Regions from separate parts of the Homo sapiens genome. Here region 1 is linked to region 2. The links are contacts of gene promoters, found by promoter capture Hi-C in blood cells and fetal thymus (Javierre and others, 2016). All regions are on one chromosome and are shown on one strand. Each heading gives the region's core, a stretch centred on a gene start or on the middle of the fragment in contact. The rest is flanking DNA. Distances are from core to core; before and after follow the strand shown.

What was found. The method cuts DNA at HindIII sites, captures the fragments that hold promoters and counts their contacts. A CHiCAGO score of 5 or more calls a contact.
Region 1: a fragment that was not itself captured here is called in contact with the fragment with the promoter of RADIL in region 2 in 1 of 17 cell types (naive CD8 T cells); the score reaches 5.3 in naive CD8 T cells.

Annotation. Positions count from the first base shown.
Region 1 is chr7:4,599,981-4,605,281 of GRCh38, forward strand. No RefSeq gene overlaps it. Among named protein-coding and RNA genes, the nearest start is that of FOXK1, 80 kb to the right of the region's middle. RefSeq lists an enhancer at 4,306-4,807. The HindIII fragment of the contact is 1,694 bases long and covers 2,802-4,495 here.
Region 2 is chr7:4,882,010-4,886,826 of GRCh38, forward strand. RADIL (Rap associating with DIL domain) reads right to left here and starts at 1,707. Exons shown (of 15, transcript NM_018059.5): 1 at 1,587-1,707. RefSeq lists enhancers at 409-703, 433-1,121, 1,122-1,809 and a silencer at 1,519-1,738. The HindIII fragment of the contact is 2,924 bases long and covers 1-2,828 here.

The DNA.
Region 1 (5,301 bases), core at 2,399-4,898, 280 kb before region 2:
TACGGGTGTCGGGCTGGGGGACGGTCAGGTCTTTCCCTTCCCACGAGGCCATATTTCAGGCTATCACATGGGGAGAAACGTTGGACAATACCTGGCTTTCCTAGGCAGAGGTCCCTGCGGCCTTCCGCAGTTTTTGTGTCCCTGGGTACTTGAGATTAGGGAGTGGTGATGACTCTTAAGGAGCATGCTGCCTTCAAGCATCTGTTTAACAAAGCACATCCTGCACCGCCCTTAATCCATTTAACCCTGAGTGGACACAGCACATGTTTCAGAGAGCACGGGGTTGGGGGTAAGGTCATAGATTAACAGAATCTCAAGGCAGAAGAATTTTTCTTAGTACATAACAAAATGGAGTCTCCTATGTCTACTTCTTTCTACACAGACACAGTAACAATCTGATCTCTCTTGCTTTTCCCCACAGAAACCCATCTCTACTAAAAATAAAAAACTAGCTGGGCGTGATGGCGCACTCCTGTAACCCTAGCTACTTGGGAGGCTGAGGCAGGAGAATCCCTTGAACCAGGAGGGCAGAGGTTGCAATGAGCCGAGACTGTGCTACTGCACTCCAGCCTGGGCAACAGAGTGAGACTTCGTCTCAAAAAAAAAAAAAAAAGAAAGAAAAAAGAGAGAAGAAAAATCATCTCTTGGGTGCTGTGGGTATTGTGTTCACTGGGTGACAAGATGGATAGAAGCCCAAACGTCAGCATCGTTCAGTACACTCACACATGAACCCCCTGAATCTAAATTGTTTTTTTTTGTTGTTGTTTTTTTTGAGATGGAGTTTCACTCTTGTTGCCCAGGCTGGAGTGCAATGGTGCAATCTCAGCTCACCGCAACCTCCACCTCCCGGGTTCAAGCAATTCTCCTGCCTCAGCCTCCCAAGTAGCTGGGACTACAGGTGCACACCACCACGCCCTGCTAATGTTTTTGTATTTTTAGGAGAGACGGGGTTTCTCCATGTTGGTCAGGCTGGTCTTGAACTCCCAACCTCAGGTGAGCCACCCGCCTTGACCTCCCAAAGTGCTGGGATTACAGGCGTGAGCCACTGCCCCTGGCCCTGAATCTAAAATTTTTTTTAAGAAACAACTCAGGACCGGGCACGGTGGCTCACGCCTGTAATCTCAACACTTTGGGAGGCCAAGGCAGGCCGATCATGAGGTCAGGAGATCAAGACCATCCAGGCTAACACGGTGAAACCCCGTCTCTACTAAAAATACAAAAAATTAGCCGGGCGTGATGGCGGGCGCCTGTACTCCCAGCTACTCGGGAGGCTGACGCAGGAGAATGGCGTGAACCCGGGAGGTGGAGCTTGCAGTGAGCCGAGATCGCACCCACTGCACTCCAGCCTGGGCAATAGAGCAAGACTCCATCTCAAAAAAAAAAAAAAGAAAAGAAAGAAAAAAGAAGCAACTCAGAAACAAAATCAAATATGGCATGTTCTTATTTATCAGTGGGAGCTAAATCACGTGTACCCATGGACATAGAATGTGTAATAATAGACACTGGAGACTCTGAAGGGTGGGGGCAGGGGGAGAGAGGAATAAGAAGTTACTCAATGGGTACGATGTACACTATTCAAGTGATGGTTACACTAAAAGCCCAGACTTCCCCACTGTGAAATATATCCTTGTAACAAGAAAACATATCCATGTAACAAAACTGCACTGTATCTTTTAAATTGATACGAATAAAAACTACCACCGGGAGGGCGCAGTGGCTGACGCCTGTAATCCCAGGACTTTGGGAGGCTAAGGTGGGTGGATCACCTGAGGTCAGGAGTTCAAGACCAGCCTGACCAACGTCGTGAAACCGCATCTCTACTAAAAATACAAAAATTAGCCAGGCATGGTAGAGCGTGTTTGTAGTCGCGGCACATTGGGAGGCCGAGGTGGGCGGATCGCTTGAGATCAGGAGTTCGAGACCAGCCTGGCCAACATGGCAAAACCCCGCCTCTACTAAATATATAAAAATGAGCCGAGCGTAGTGGTGGGCGTCTGTAATCCCAGCTACTCAGGAGGCTAAGGCAGGAGAATCACTTGAAGCCAGGAGGTGGAGGTTGCAGTGAGCCGAGACGGTGCCACTGCACTCCAGCCTGGGCGACAGAGCAAGACTCCATCTCAAAAAAAACCCAAAAAAAGCACATGATAGAATGTGTGTTTATTGTGTTGTACATGCTCATGTGTTTATAGCTGTTTCGCTTTTATAAATGTGGATGTATTGTTTGCAAATGCCTTATATGCAAAATTAAATGTATGGAAGTTCACAAGTCAAAAAACATGGGATAAAAACATAATTCAGCCAGTAACATGGGGAACCACTGAGAATGAGTACCTCTTCACTGCAACCACAACACAACTTGCTGCCCTGCAGCTTCCGGAATATTCAGCATGCAGATAAAATTATGCAGTTTCTAAGATCCCTTTGACACATTCAGGATTTTATCTGGAGATGGAAGGCAATCCCAGAAAAAGAAATCATGTCTTTTCTGCAAATGAGAGTGAGAATATGGTGTGTGTCAGCATGTGCAAACCCAAATCATCTATCTTCAAGTCTTAGGGTAGTAAATCACTGACTGTAAACTTCTTTGAAAAACACCAAGCCTGTGGATTGGAAGCAGTGCTAGAATTTGTTTTTCGTGGTCTGTCTTTCTTTCTTTCTTTCTTTCTTTCTTTCTTTCTTTCTTTCTTTCTATCTTTCTTTCTTTCTTTCTTTCTTTCTTTCTTTCTTTCCTTCCTTCCTTCCTTCCTTCCTTCCTTCTTTCTTTCTTTCTTTCTTTCTTTCCTTTCATTTTCCTAACCTAAAGCTTAGAGTTGCAGACGTTTTTGATGCACACTGCCAACCTGCTCTCCCTCCTGATGGGAACCATTCAAACTCCCTGGGAAAGACACAGGGACCATTGTATCCACTCCCTGGTCCCTTGTCCTCATTTCCTACTGGTTGCCTGGCCTGAGATTCTGGTCCTGACCCAACCCTTGCTTCTCCACCTTGCCTTATTTGGCTTCAGGAAGCAAGTATCTCAGGTACTAGGCTCTCCCCAGAATACCCCAGACGAGATCCCAATACGAGGCACAGCTGAGCCGGAGCACTCCCCTGCCCCGTGCTGACCCAGCTTCCTGCACCTGTGTGGCCCCAGCATTCCCTGCAAAGCCTTCCCCATGAGGCAGGCTAGGCCTGGGCCCCCAGTCAGCTTCCCAAGTCCCACGCCGTTGGGGGCTCCCCCTGTCAGCACAGCACCTCCTCCCTGATGTGTCTCCTGGCCCACTTCCTGGAATGCCCAGGCCGGCCTCCGCCGGGCCACAGTCACCTTCTAGCAGCCCAAGCCACAGTGTCCACCGCCTGCCCTAAAACTCCAGGGCTCCCCACATCTGCAAAGATCGGACGTCATGGCTTGAAATTCAAAGTCCTCCTTGATCAGGTCCCAACCACCAGCCAGCCTTGTCTCCCTTCACACACTGCACAACACACACACACACACACAATGCATGTGCACACACCACACATACACGTGCACACATGCATGCATACCACACAAGCACATGCACACATACACACCACTCACAAACACACATATACACACCACACACGTGTGCTCACATACACACCACTCACAAACACACATATACACACCACACACGTGTGCTCACATACACACCACTCACACACATACCACACACGTGTGCTCACATACACACCACTCACAAACACATATACACATCACACACGTGTGCTCACATACACACCACTCACACACATACCACACACGTGCTCACATACACACCACTCACAAACACACATATACACACCACACACGTGTGCTCACATACACACAACTCACAAACACATATACACACCACACACGTGTGCTCACATACACACCACTCACAAACACATATACACACCACACACGTGTGCTCACATACACACCACTCACAAACACACATATACACACCCCACACGTGTGCTCACATACACACCACTCACAAACACATATACACACCACACACGTGTGCTCACATACATATGACAAACTAGCACGTGTGTGCACAATACACACATACATCTCACACACGTGCATATACACAACACGCATGTGCACGTACACACATTACACATCTAAGCACACATGTGCACACATGCACATATGCACACAACACGTACATATATACACATACACATATCACATGCCTGCATGTGCATACATGCACACATACCACACACATGCAACACATAACACACATACACCACACACACAGGTACACACATACCACACACATAAGCATGCAGAAATACATACACATACACAATCACACACACACATAAGCATACATCACTCTCACACCCCCGCACACAACCACCACCCTCTGAACCAAACCCTGCCTTGCCTTTTCCCTGCAGGCTCCTCAGCCTGAGACCCCCCGCATTGCTTCTCTTCTCCATTGTTCAAAACTCTACTCACTTCTCAAGCCCCAAGTCAAATGCCACAGCTTCCCCGAGAAGCTTCTCACTCGCCCTAGCTTGCTCTGTGCCCTAGGAGGAATAAACCCTCAAGTCGTGATCATTTGTCCTGGACATTGCCATGCAGGGCCTTCAAAACACCTTCCCACAACTGCAAGGAATTCTCCCCTTGGAAGCCAGGACTCAGCCTCCCAGACACCCTCGAGAGCCGGCACCTCGCACAGGTGCCGCCCATCAGATGCATCTCCACAAGGCCCCCACCCAAACGAGAGCACCTGAGGAAGGACACCACCCTATGGAAAGCGATATGGGACTGAGAGGCAGCCATAACAGAGCCCTGGTGGGGCATACCCCACGTGGGGGGCCGTGGAGAGAAAGTGGTGGGAGGAGCGTCTCCATGGGGTCCTGTGGGGTCACACGGGTGTTACACTGGCTCAGCTGATTCTCCTGCCTCAACCTCCCGCGCAGCTGGGACTACAGGCCCACGCTACCATGCCCAGCTAATTTCTTTAAATTTTGTGTAGAAATGGGGTCTCACTATGTTACCCAGGCTGGTCTTGAACTCCTAGGCTCAATCAATTCTCCCACCTCAGCCTCCCGAAGTGCTGGGGTTACAGGCGTGAGCCGCTGTGCCCAGCCCATGGCCTCCATTTCTGATCTCTGATCTCTGTCCCAACCCCTTCCCACCCAACACGTCACTAAGCTACCTAAATTCCTTTCTATCCAGAGTGGCCTGTGTGGTTTGCAACTAGGAATCCTGCCCAAAATGCCTGCTCCCTCTGGGTTCCAACTGGTGCCTCTGCTAGGGTGTCCTGCTTTGGGGCGCCATACATCATTTCAGGGTTG
Region 2 (4,817 bases), core at 457-2,956:
CAGTATCATGAAACAGGAGAAAATGTAAGCAGAGAGAATATGATTGACTCCTTTCCAATAACTCCTTCTTAAGCCCCCAGAAGTCCCTGTTACACAAACCTTATCTGTTTTGGGATTTTCAGAAAGCATTTCTCTCCGTTTGGTCATCCTCCCTTGGCCAGACCAGAGGGTGCCCACTTGTTCACACGCTGCCCGCTTCCGAATCCCAGAAGGCGGAGCCTGGCCTGTTTGTGAGAATGGGATGGACTCGTTTTTTAAAAGGCCAAGGGGAGTGCAGGAAAATCCGACCGGGCGGAGCACGCCCTGGGTAACAAGATCTGTTTTTCTGGAAGTGCGACCGGCCTCTTCTGCCCCATTCGCTCCTCTGTGACACAAATACTTGGGGAAAGCGCAGGGCTCGGACAGCGAGGGTGTGGGGCGCTGGCTGGTGCTGCTCTTAGAGAATGTTTTCTCTTGTTCTCAAGGAAGGGTCCAGTTTCTGATGAAAAACAAGCTCAAGTCCCAGCGGCGAGTACAGGGAGTGAGGTCAGTGCTGCGCTGACGACATGGGTGGAGCGACCTCTCTGCTCCAACAGGACAATGTGGAACCCATTATCATTTCCAGCAGGAGGGAAAACGAAGCGCAGACTTTACACACTCAGCTCTCTCCCCTCCTTCCATGAATCCTATCTTTACAGCCCCAGCCCGAGCCACGCTTTCAAATGCAAACATAATTCAATCAGATTTAATTCTGACCTGCTAGCTGCTGGAGAGGAGACCGACTTGCCCCCCAGCAAAAGGGACTTTCAAGACTGGTTCCTGTCTGGAATGCACAAGAGGTGGCCTATATTAACCGCGGGACACGAGCAATCAGATTCTTCTGTGCAATTCAGATTAGCCAAACACTTGACAGGCGACAGGGCAGGGCAGGATGGTCCGCAGCCCCGCCAGGGCCCTGCCAACCCCACCAACAGGCTCCTCCTGCGAGGCCCCAGGAGCTCGGCTCAGCATCTGTTATCTTGGATGCAGTATTTGTCGAGGGGCTGGAAATGGTACATAAATAGCCGGGAAACAATGCTTTGAGCTGGCGCACGAGTGGGGATCGGGCTGCAACCGGGACGGGGTATGTGCAGGGGACGTCTCGCCGGCCCAGGTGGGAGAGCGCGCGGAACCCTGCGCCCCGCTCCCCCGCTGCGCCCCGCTCCCCCGCTGCGCGCCCCGGACGAAGCTCCCCCTCCAGGGCACAGCCGGGAAAACTGAGGGCCGAGAGTCCCCTGGAGTTGGGGGTCCGGGGCCCACGCGGACAGCCAGGCTCAGGAGCTCTCGGGGGTCGGCAGCGCGGACCCCCGGATCCCCGCAGGCTGGGCCGCCCTTGCCCGCGCTAGCCGGCCTCCGGGTACCGCCCCCCGGTCCAGGCCGGGGCCCGACAGCCAGTCGGTTCCCATGGCAACTGGGCAAACCTGCCCTCCGCGCCCCGACCAGCGGCCGGGAGTGTCCCCGAGCGCGCCCCGCGGCCTCCGCGCCCCAGGTCCCCGGCAGCGGCCGAGCAGCGCCCCTTACGAGCCACCCCCGGTTCCGCAGTCACTCCTCGCGCACCCCACACTCACCTCCGGCACAACCCGCCGCGCCGCCACGTTCCCGCGCTGCTCCCACCCGCCGTTGGCTGGGGCCGGCGCCCAGACCCGCGCGTGCCGCGGCGCCTCCTGCCGGCGGCGCAACGGGCGGGGCGGGGCCTCAAGGGGACGGGGCCACAAAGGGTGGGGCGGGGGAGAACAGGTGGGCTGGAGCTGGGCCTCGGCGCCCAATAGGCAGAAAGAAAGCCTCGAGGAGGCGGGGTCTCCAGGAGAGGGGCGGGGCCAACCTGCTAGAAAAGGCGGGCTGTGCTCTGGCGCCTCCTGCCGGCCGCCCAATGGACGGGGATGCAGCCTCGAGGGGGCGGGGCCTCACCGGAGAGGCGGGGTTTTGAAGAAAGGGGTGGGGCTGGTTGTGGAGAGGCGGGACTTGCAGCCCACCCACAGACTGCAGCTTAAGGAGGGGGGGTCCCCGGAGGAAGGGTGGGACCAGTTCTAAGTCCCTGAGCTGCTTGTGGGCTCTGGGCTCCTGCGGTTGGGTGGGCTATTTCGAGACAGCACCTTCTAGTAGCCCAGTGAGTGGGTGTAGGGGAGGGTAGAGCTGTGCCCCCAATTAATAAACATCTTCTAAGACATCGAAAAGGAACAAGGGAGGAATTTCCTCTCCCCTACCATCTGTCTCCCACCCAGAGTTTTAAAAGACAAATCAGGTCATGGCATTCCTGCTTACAATTATGCAAAAAAATGACCAGGTCAGCTCTGGGGCTCTGGCCCCAACTGCTCTCCCTGGGGACTTGTTTAAAAAGCAGCTCGTGACCTCGGCACTTTGGCTGGGGTTTTCCCTTTGAGGAATGTGGGCTAGACCTGGGAGATTCAGGTGGTTCGGAATATCAATATGCAGAATGTGGGCCTCGGGAGTGAACCTTTTTGTGGACAGCTATCGTGGTATGATTTCCGTAGTCATGACCCCATATTCGCGATGGAGGTCGGAGCAGACATTGATGAGTGTGGGAACAGACATTTATTGACCACCTGTGTGCCAGGCCCTAGGCAACTTTACCTAGGTCACCTCACTTAATGCTCACATCAATTCTTGTGAGACAGAGATGTCTGAGACATTCCAGGCCTCCCCTTTCCTCCACCTATCACCTGCTAATCCTAAAGTCCACCTCCTAAACCTTTTCTAATAAAAAATAGTGCCTCAAAGTCAACACAGAGAGACAGATTTGAGCCAGGCTCCTGTCTCCTTATTGATCAACTCACAATACGGACAAAAAAAGCTTTTGTCTCAAAAACTTAATGCAGTAAGATTGGCTTTTTTTTTTTTTTTTTTTTTTTTTTTTTTTGGAGACAGAGTCTTATTCTATTGCCCTAGCTGGAGTGCAGTGGTGTGATCTCAGCTCACTGCAACCACCACCTCCCAGGTTCAAGCGATTCTCCTGCCTCAGCCTCCCGAGTAGCTAAGGTTAACAGGCACCTACCACCACGCCCACCTAATTTTTGTATTTTTAGTAGAGACGGGGTTTTGCCATGTTGACCAGGCTGGTTTTGAAATCCTAACATCAGGTGATCCACCCACCTCAGTCTCCCAAAGTGCTGGAATTACAGGCATGAACCTCTGCACCTGATCAAGATTGGCTTCTAGCAGAGCAAGCGCAGAACCCTTTTGTTCAGTAATACTCCCATTTTTCAGATGAGAAAATAGAGACGCAGAGAGGTCAGGCTGCTGGAGGTAGAGACAAGAACTGAGCCAGGAATACAGGACCCTCTGTATACACACCAACCTCCTCGCCTACCCCAGGAAGGGATGCTTGAAAGGAATGACGTGCTTGAATATTTCATTCAGGTGCGCATGAAGAGACAATGGTCAGAGCTGAAGGAGAGCCTGGGTTCAGGCCTGGGTTTTCCTCCTGAGATATTCCTCACCCTGCTCCTGGCCCATCTCCCACAGTCCCCACATCCTTCTTCCACAGGGGTCGGATAACTACAACCCATGGGCCAGATCTGGGCTGCCTTCTGTTTTTGTAAATAAAGTTTTATTCAAACACAGCTACCCTCATTTGTTTAGATATTATCTACGACTGCTTTCCTGCAACCAGGATTTTACAGCCCCAAATATCTAAAATATGACCTGGCCCTTTATAGAGAAACTTTTCAGATTGCTTCTTGATCTAGAAATGCTGACTTTTTGGTATGAATATGCTGTTTCATGCCTCGAGATCTTCCCTCAGGCCGGTCCCTTGACCTTCAAACACCTTTTCCAACTGTATTAGATTAGCTGAGCTGCTATTAAAAAATGCCAGATCAGGTGGCTCGAAAAACGGAAATGTTTTATCTGGCAGCTCTGGAGGCTGGAAGTCCAAGGTGAAGTTGTCAGCAGGTTTGGCTTCTTTGAGGGCCTCTATCCTTGGTTTGCAGACGGCCACCTTCTGGCTGTGCCCCCACATGGCCTTTCTTCTGGGTGTGCACCTCTCACCTGTCTCTTTGTGTGTTCAATCTCCTCTTTTTATAAGGACACTAGTCAGATTAGACTAGGGCCCATCCTAACAGCCTCATTTTATCTTAATCACCTCTTTAAAGGCCCTGTCTCCAAATATAGTCACATTCTGAGGTGTGAGGGGTCGGGGCTTCAACAAACACGTGAATTTTAGGGGGACAAAATTCAGACCATAACAGCAAACTTCATTACCTGGCTAACTTCTTTTTTTTCAAATGTGTGTGTGTATATATATATATATATATTTTTTTTTTAGATGGAACCTTGCTCTGTCGCCCAGGCTGGAGTGCGGTGAGGCAATCTTGGCTCACTGCAATCTCTGCCTCCCAGGTTCAAGCGATTCTCCTGCTTCAGCCTCCTGAGTAGCTGGGATTATAGGCACCTGCCACCACGCCTGACTAATTTTTGTAATTTTAGTAGAGATGGGGCTTCACCATGTTGACCAGGCTGGTCTCGAACTCCTGACCTTGCAATCTGCCTGCCTCAGCCTCCCAAAGTGCTAGGATTATAGGCATGAGCCACCACACCCGGCCGCTAATTTCTACTCATCCTTTGAGACTCAGATAAGGCGTTTCTTTGGTAGTAGCCAACCTCCAAGATGGCCCCAGTGATTCCCACCTCTTGGTTTTCATGCTCCTGTATAGGCCCATGTTGAATAGGGCAGACTTGTGTAATCAGTAAGATACTGCCAAAATGACACTGTGACTTCTGGAACACAATCATAAAAGACGTGGCTTCTGCCCTTGCTCTCTCTTAGATCAGTAGTTCTG